Linked DNA regions of Homo sapiens: regions 2 and 3 are each linked to region 1. The links are contacts of gene promoters, found by promoter capture Hi-C in human tissues and cell types (Jung and others, 2019). All regions are on one chromosome and are shown on one strand. Each heading gives the region's core, a stretch centred on a gene start or on the middle of the fragment in contact. The rest is flanking DNA. Distances are from core to core; before and after follow the strand shown. Region 1 holds the start of APOBEC2 (apolipoprotein B mRNA editing enzyme catalytic subunit 2). Region 2 overlaps LOC101929555 (a long non-coding RNA gene). Region 3 overlaps LOC101929555 (a long non-coding RNA gene).

Region 1 (2,652 bases), core at 79-2,578:
TCCCACCTCAGTCTGAGAAAAAGCAAGGTACTTATGACAGCCCATAAGGCCCCAGTCCCTTTTACCCTTGTTATCTCTCTGGCTTAATCTCTTAGAACTCTTCAGTCACCCAGATGTATGTCCTCGCTAGTTCCTCAAACACCCCAGGAATGCTCCCTTCTCAGAGCCTTTGCTCACGTTGTTCCCTTCCTTGGAACGCTTTCCTCTTAGACAACCAAATGATTAGTTCCCTTGCCTTCTTCACGTCTTCTTCAATTGTCTCCTTTTCAAAGTCCTTCACCCTGGCCATCCTATAAGTACGTAACCCCACCTCTTAGCACTTCCTGTTTCCATTTCCTGTCTTTTCTCCTTGGCACTTGTCATCACAAAATAGACCATGTATTTTACTTACCTTATTTGTTGTTCAGTTCCTCAAGCTCCACAAATCATCACAGCAGGGATTTTCATTTGCTTTGTTCTTTTGCCATATTCCCAGTACCTGAAACAGCACCTGGCATAGAGTAGATACTCAATAAATATTTGTTAAGAAGAATAAAAGACTGACTGTGAGGGCACATAGCATGGAGGTTGAATATTTGGCCTGAAGTACAAAAGCCTGCATTTTAATCCCGGCTCTGCACACTTCTGTGACTCAGTTTACCTGTAACTTGGGATAATACACATCGCCTCCCATGGCTGTGGCAAGCATGCATCTGATTTCATTTAAACCCCTAAACCCACTGCCTGGCCTGTTTCAAAATCTCTGAGCTAAGTAAATGGCAGCTATTGTTACTCAGGGAGGCTCCTGATCGATTTGACATTACATTATGGCTTTGTAACAGGCAAATCAGCACCCACCGCTTTTGAGTCATAACTCACACACTTACTCCCCAAATTGTCAGTTTTGATCCCACCTCTGCCAGGACCCCTCCTTTCCTGAACCCACGTTCCCCCAAAGCAAATGGCCTGGGTCTTTTTGCAGTCAGCCCCTTTCAACACACATCTCCTCCTGTTTAAATCTCAGAAGGCCACCCTCCTAAATCTCAGGATGCCTGCCCTGGGGCCCCTTCCACACTCTCCCCCAGTGGAGCTAGGGAATTTGGGTGGGAAACAAAGGGGAGAACATAAGGTGAGCTGAGAGGGAGAGGGAGAAGAGAGCAGGCCAAGCCATACCCACCTGCCAGGTTCCTGTCTTTGCCTACTGATAAATAGGGGATACTAATGGCCAGATTTTCCATTCCCCCACCCCAGCACCCGCTGTCACTCAATTAAAAAAAGATAGAGGGAGAGAGCCTGGGGGAGGGGCAGGAGGCCTTGGCTATAAAGCCTGTGGCTAAGTGGGGAAAGCACGAAGCCTGGCCTGCTGGGTCCTTTTCCCGTCATCCCCAGCCAGATTTAGCTGCTGACAGCTGCTTGGGACTCTGCCGCCAGGGCCTGGCCCAGACCTGCCTGCCTCTCTCCTCTCCCTCAGTGACTCCTGAGCCACAGCCCCTCCATGGCCCAGAAGGAAGAGGCTGCTGTGGCCACTGAGGCTGCCTCCCAGAATGGGGAGGATCTGGAGAACCTGGACGACCCTGAGAAGCTGAAAGAGCTGATTGAGCTGCCGCCCTTTGAGATTGTCACAGGGTAAGCCTCAGATGTGGGTCAGGGTTCTGCTCCCTAGAAGAGTGCAGCCTTGGGTTAGGCTGTGGAAATTCAGGATGGTTATATTAGGCGTCAGGGACAGCTACAACCCTGCAGCAGTGAGAGTGCACCAGTGGGCCCGGCAGGGGTGGTAGGGGACCCAGCAGCAAATTCTCTTGGCTTCTCAGGGTGACACCTTGGGCTCTCTAATCAGGGAGAGGTAGGAGGAGCTCCTTGGAGGCAAAAGCCCAGAGAATAAAACCACCCTTCAGGCCTCCTGGTATTGGGATGGCCACCTGCCTCTCTGGGTAGAAGCTTAGTCCCAGGGAGTTTGGCGAGGACAGAGGATGAGACTGGCACATCTATATGTGGCTCCGTTCAAAGCAACCCTTCCCCTCAACTTCTCTGTTCCTGAGTGGGTCTCTCCGCTAGCCATAGGCCTCTAGCCCTTTCTTTAGAGCTTCTTCCTGGAGTAGATGCTCCCAAGACAGGAAAGATAGATCCATCCTTTCCCAAGACTCAGAAGCAGCTTTTTTCTTATTAAATCTTTTGAGTCTCCTCAGGGGCTGTCCCACAGAGAAACAGAGAAATTACATGCAGATAACGCAGCCCAGGAGCTTATGGACACAGGAGCTGTTCCAACATGCTCAGGCATTGCCTGGAGGAACTGGGACCCAAAGAAAAGGGTCTACAGACTGCAAGGAGGGGGCTGTGTGCAGGGTACCTCTGTCTTATCCAGATTATGCCATCTCCAGGAATAAAACTAAGTAGTCTTCTTCCTCTTCCCTTTCTATTCCTGTAGTGGAAGACCCTTCTAAATCCTGAGCAAAGAATAAAAAGAGAATCTATGAGGCCATATTTCCTCCTTGAACCAAACGTTCCCTTCATGGGGTCTCCAGGAATGACCACAGGCAGAGTGGGTGCGAGACTAAGAGAAGTTTCAGGAAGAAAGGAGGCATGATGCTTTCAAGGGGGAAAGGAAGCCCTGAGTGGCAATTTGGACTTGATATTTCAAGCTTGACAAGTGATTTTCCAGTCAGCCACAGTTTT
Region 2 (2,652 bases), core at 109-2,608, 150 kb before region 1:
CAGAGCACCACGCTCCAGTGTCTCTAGGCCCACTGCTGCCTCTGCCTGGAGAACCTTCCTTTCCCACCCACCCACACTCTGCCTTTGCCGAGCCACTGCTATATATTTTGAAAACCTACATCAGTGCCACCTCCTCTGAGAAGCCTTCTCTGACATCCCCCAAGTCTGGACCAGGCACCCCTCCTGTTGAGGGGGGCGGCGCACAGTATCTAGTACCATGGCACAAGATTTCAACATTGCTTGTTTACTTGTCTGTGAACCGGAGGGCAACCGCACATGGCAGGCACTGGAGTTGTCCATCCAAAACCTAGGACCTTTTCCTGATTTTATTCAGGCAAGAAATTGCTCAGTCTTGAGGATGATCGTTATTTTTTTTAACTTTTTGAAATTTTATTTTTTATTGATACATAATAGTTGTACATACATTGGGGATACATGTGATCATTTAACACATTTGAATAACTTGTAAAGATCAAATCATCATACTCAGGATATATATTGCCTTAAATATTTGTCTTTTCTTCATGCTAGAAACATTTGAATTGCTGTCTTCTAGCTCCTTTGAAATATACAATAGATAATTAGTAGTTAACCTTTACTGTGAGCCAAGTACTGTGCTAAGCACCTTATGTACATTAAACATTTAATCCTTACATCAACCTGTGAAGTATCATTATCACCATTTTACAGATGGGAAAACTGAGGAACAAAAGGTTAAGCTCCTTGCCCAGGGTTATATAAATCAGAAGTGATGGAGCCATGATTTGAACTGTGGCCATCGGGCTCCAGAGCCTGTGCTCTTAGTGGACATGATAGACTCACTGCTTTTCCCATGAACAGCACATCACAATTGGCCCAAGGCAGCCATTTATGGCATCCCATTCTGGTTTGCCTGTGACTGGTCTAGAAACAGGCATGTGATCCAGATATGGTCACTGGGTTATAATAAGAAGGCACCTGGGCACTTCTAGGAAAGGTGTTCTTCCCCTATGGAAAAAAAAAAAAAAGAGCAAAGTGAAGGTCCCTGTTCTGTCTTGCTTCTGTCTTTGAGCATTAGGATGTTGTTGGGGGCTATGATGGCCATCTTGCCATCTGAGGGGAGATATCACTGACCCACCAAGAATGGTTCTTGATGGCACTGCTGAGCTGTGGACCCTACAGCCTCTAAGGACCACAGCCCTGGACTTCTTTCTTATTTTAGATGAGATAATGAATGCCTGCATTGTTTTGTCAGAGGTGTTTAAACTGGAGCAACTCCATCTTGAATAGAGGCTGGGTAAAATAAGGCTGAGGCCTACCGGGCAGCATTCCCAGACAGTTAGGCACTCTAAGTCACAGGATGAGATAGGAGGTCAGCACAAATACAGGTAATAAAGACCTTGCTGATAAAACAGGCTGCAGTAAAGAAGCTGGCTAAAACCCACCAAAACCAAGATGGCGATGAGAGTGACCTCTGGTCATCCTCAATGCTATACTCCTACCAGTGCCATGACAGTTTACAAATGCCAAGGCAACATCAGGAAGTTACCCTATATGGTGTAAAAAGGGGACGCATCAATAATCCACCCCTTGGTAGCATATAATCAAGAAATAACCATAAAAATGGGCAACCAACAGTCCTCAGGGCTGTTCTGCCTATGGAGTAGCCATTCTTTATTCCTTTACTTTCTTATTAAACTTGCTTTCACTTTACTCTGTGGATTTGCCTCGAATTCTTTCTTGCACGAGATCCAAGAACCCTCTCTTGGGGGTCTGGATTGGGACCCCTTTCTGGTAAGAGTTTAGGCCACTACTGGCTGAGTATTGTAACTTGCAGCCAAACCCATACACCCATCCAATGCCTAAACGGTGCCTGGCACACAGTAGGCCCTTCATAAAGGGCTGTTTAATGAAGGAAATGGAAAACCACGTGAGCATATGTGGCAAAACAGGATGAACTCAAAGCACTACATGAATATGAAGAAAGTTTCATTTTCTTGAGCCTCAGTTTCCTCATTGAGGGGGCTGGGCTCAGTGGGTTCACTTAGGCACCCACTTTCTCTATTTTGAGTACAAGAAAAGATGAAGTTTCAGGTAGGCAGGACTGACAATAAATGTTATGGGAGAAGAGACCCTGGGAATCCCTCACAACTGCACACTGCTTATCCTTGGCAAGCTGAGGGAGCCTGTCAAAGGGCATCACTTTCTGCGGGAAGGTTCAAAGAAACACATCTAAATAGAAGAGAGTATGATAAGGGACTCGCCCAGGGGCCACCCTCTACAACAAAGAACTGCAAAGACCTCTGCTCTCTTGGCCTTTGATTTAACTCAATACAATCTGAAAACATCTGAACGACTTTCTTTGTTCACTATAGAGTCCTGAGGGCCGCCCAGAGGCCTGCCTGTTTATCCACCACAGGCAGCTGGCAGTAACTCAGCAGGCGCAAAGCACACACCTTGCTCTGTCAGATCAGCCACTCAGATAAGGCCACGGGGGTCACTCATGAGTCCAGGGGCATTGGCGTGGGCTCTAAGGCACCTGATGGGGCAGGCCAACCATTGGCCAAGTAATAAGGACCTCTGAGTCCTACTCTGAGGCTTCCCTGGCTCCCTTTTACTGTCCCTAGTCATCCTTTGTGGGACCCTTTAGGAAATTATACATTAGTTCAATGT
Region 3 (2,652 bases), core at 113-2,612, 140 kb before region 1:
GAAAGTAACAGATCTGCAGGGCTCTCCATAGTCACTGCAGGGGACTTATGACAAGTGCCAGCCCTGCTCAGTTTAGACTTGGATCACAAGCAATGGAAAACGAGTGAATTTCATCAAAGGGTAGATCCTGTCCCTTTGGGGAGTCCTTCAGACTATTCTCAGGATGCTTCCAGCTCCAAAATTCCCCATCTGTACTGCAAGTCAGCCTGACTTTCCCAGGTCATCCACTTTGTGTATCTTCTCCCTCCTGCTCCCTCAGCCACCATCATCACCAGTCCTGTGTGCCATAAACTCAGGCTGAATTTCCTGGCTAATAAACTAGTCATTGCCAACAGCACAAATAGTTTCATGTGCCAACTGGCCATTTGCTTCTTAATAAATGGGAGCTTCTTGAGACAAAATTCTTTAATATGGAGGACAGATTTAGCCCAGTGGGGCTTTATCATGTTCCTTAACCCACTAAGCATCTAGGAGAAGTGGGACCTGACCCTTAGAGTAATCCAGTGCTTTGGGGATTGGCTCCCCAACTCAGGGTTAACTGTGTGACCTAAACAGACCTTCAGGGTGACATGGTGGAGAAAAGGGTATAACCTATTTATGAAAAAGAAAAAATGCAGTAACCCAGGAATCGTCAGGCCTGAGCTTTAGTCCCAACTCTGCTCTCAGTTGCTGTATGATCTGCAGTGAGCTCTCATGTCTGCAAAACTCATTCTAGTAATTATCCGTGTGACCAGCAGCAGGTCCCTTCTCCCTGGGCCTTAGCTCTTCTTCCTCTCAGTGGGGGAATGAACAGAGGTCTCCTCTGGTTATGACATTTATTAGTGGTTTTTACAAGATGGTTTGACTCAAATCATATTTTAAAAATTCTTGTCTGTGCTTGAACACTTCAAATGTTTTATTACTAGATCTACAGTACATAACAAAGTAATTGTGTAATTAAGAGATAATGTCAATGCTGTAGAACAATGTTGACAAGATAATAGCCTTCTGAAACCACATAAATGCCAAAGCAAGTGTACAGACTGATAGGTGGAAAAACAGAAAAACAAGTGGCAAATGGCCCACAAGCTCTTTGCAGTCCATGTTGGTTTATTTGCCTCTTTTCCCAGCTTCTGTCATGACATTCAAGTTCTGGTCTCCATCATGCCCCAGTTCCCAGGCATGTGGGTCAAGACTGAGAACGGCAGGTTTCATCTACGGTAGCTGGTCCCCATCGTCCCTTTACTTGCAGACTCACAGAAAATGAGTCCCATCGGCCCCCACGTCTGGAGGGGCTAGAGGTCATGTAGTTCAGACTCTCCTAGTGCCTGCCATTGCCAGATAAAGAAGATGAGACCAGAGTCAAGAAGGATTTGCTCTGGGGAACTTCTGAGCTGATTTATGGAAAAGAGCTGGAGCCCTGGATTCCTTCCCAATTTGCCACTTCTCCTTACTCTAGCCAGAATGCCTTACTTAGATGCATTTTCTCAGTGGAGAGAAGGGAGCTGCAGGAGGTGGAGAAGGGATGGTTCACATGACCTTGAGGCCCAGAGGCATTTCCCTGCAAGCAGAAGGAGGGGATCAGGCATTGTCCTAACCAGGCAGCCTAGAAAGAGGAAAGTCATGGAGTGATACAACTATGAAGGTCATGAGTGGGGAGGAGGGCTTGTTAGCTACATGTTACAGTATTTGGTTTTTTGTTTTGTTTTGTTTTGTTTTGTTTTTTTGAGACGGAGTCTCACTTTGTTGCCAGGCTGGAGTGTAGTGGCCCAATCTCAGCTCACTACAACCTCCACCTCCCTGGTTCAAGAGATTCTCCTGCCTCAGCCCCCTAAGTAGCTGGGACTATGGGCATGTGCCACCATGCCCAACCAATTTTTGTATTTTTAGTAGAGACAGGGTTTTACCATGTTGGCCAGGATGGTCTTGATCTCTTGACCTCATGATCCACCCGCCTTGTCCTCCCAAAATGCTGGGATTACAGGCATGAGCCACCCCACCAGGCCTAGATGTTACAGTATTAAGAAGGGCTGTGCACCCTTGAATTTGAGGAAAGGTAAGAATGGAGCAAAGAGGGACCGTGCTCCTGGTTCATGGGCATGGAAAGAGGCTAGATCACCCTCTTTTGGAAAAAGAGACCTTATGTGCTGCAAAGAGTACTGGGTTTGGAGCCAGAAGAACTGAGTAGAAGCTAGTAATTTGTTCAGTGACTTTGAATGAATAACGGACTTCCCCTTTCTGGGCTATAGCTTCCTTAGCTCTGAAATGAGGGCAATGAACCCAATCAATAGTGCCCACATACCCTGAACTGAGGCTAATTTCCATTTCCAACTGCTCCCTGGGTGGTTAGCATGATTAGGGGGCTAGCTACTCCTTGAAGCTTCTCCCAACGCTAGCATCCACAGATTCTAGGAAAAAATCAATTGATTCACAATGGTTTTGATAAATTCCTGGATACCAGAGCTATAACAGGGTCCTAAGTATAGTTGTGGGGTTAAGTTGCACCAGACCTATGAGAATAATGTCAGGTGGACATGCAATCCCTTGATCTCCCTGTTGGACACAGAAGCCAGGATAAATGGCCCACAGGTCCAAAGAGGTTTCAGCCCTGTCCTCCCACTCCTCCATGCCTTTGAGCATGCTATTCCCTCCTCCCCACCTTGGCCCCCAACC

Evidence for each region. Contacts are between HindIII fragments. The study calls those that stand out against the background at their distance.
Region 2: a fragment that was not itself captured here is called in contact with the fragment with the promoter of APOBEC2 in region 1 in 1 of the 25 tissues and cell types used here (mesenchymal stem cells).
Region 3: a contact is called between a fragment that was not itself captured here and the fragment with the promoter of APOBEC2 in region 1, in 2 of the 25 tissues and cell types used here (IMR-90 fibroblasts and mesenchymal stem cells).

What each region holds. Positions count from the first base shown.
Region 1 is chr6:41,051,874-41,054,525 of GRCh38, forward strand. APOBEC2 (apolipoprotein B mRNA editing enzyme catalytic subunit 2) reads left to right here and starts at 1,329. Exons shown (of 3, transcript NM_006789.4): 1 at 1,329-1,605. The coding sequence starts at 1,475. The HindIII fragment of the contact is 7,265 bases long and covers 1-2,267 here.
Region 2 is chr6:40,897,572-40,900,223 of GRCh38, forward strand. The region is part of intron 2 of LOC101929555 (a long non-coding RNA gene); the gene reads right to left. Among named protein-coding and RNA genes, the nearest start is that of UNC5CL, 140 kb to the right of the region's middle. RefSeq lists enhancers at 1,930-2,441, 2,442-2,652. The HindIII fragment of the contact is 3,939 bases long and covers 1-2,652 here.
Region 3 is chr6:40,915,586-40,918,237 of GRCh38, forward strand. All of the region lies in intron 1 of LOC101929555 (a long non-coding RNA gene), which reads right to left. Among named protein-coding and RNA genes, the nearest start is that of UNC5CL, 120 kb to the right of the region's middle. RefSeq lists an enhancer at 2,408-2,652. The HindIII fragment of the contact is 7,549 bases long and covers 1-2,652 here.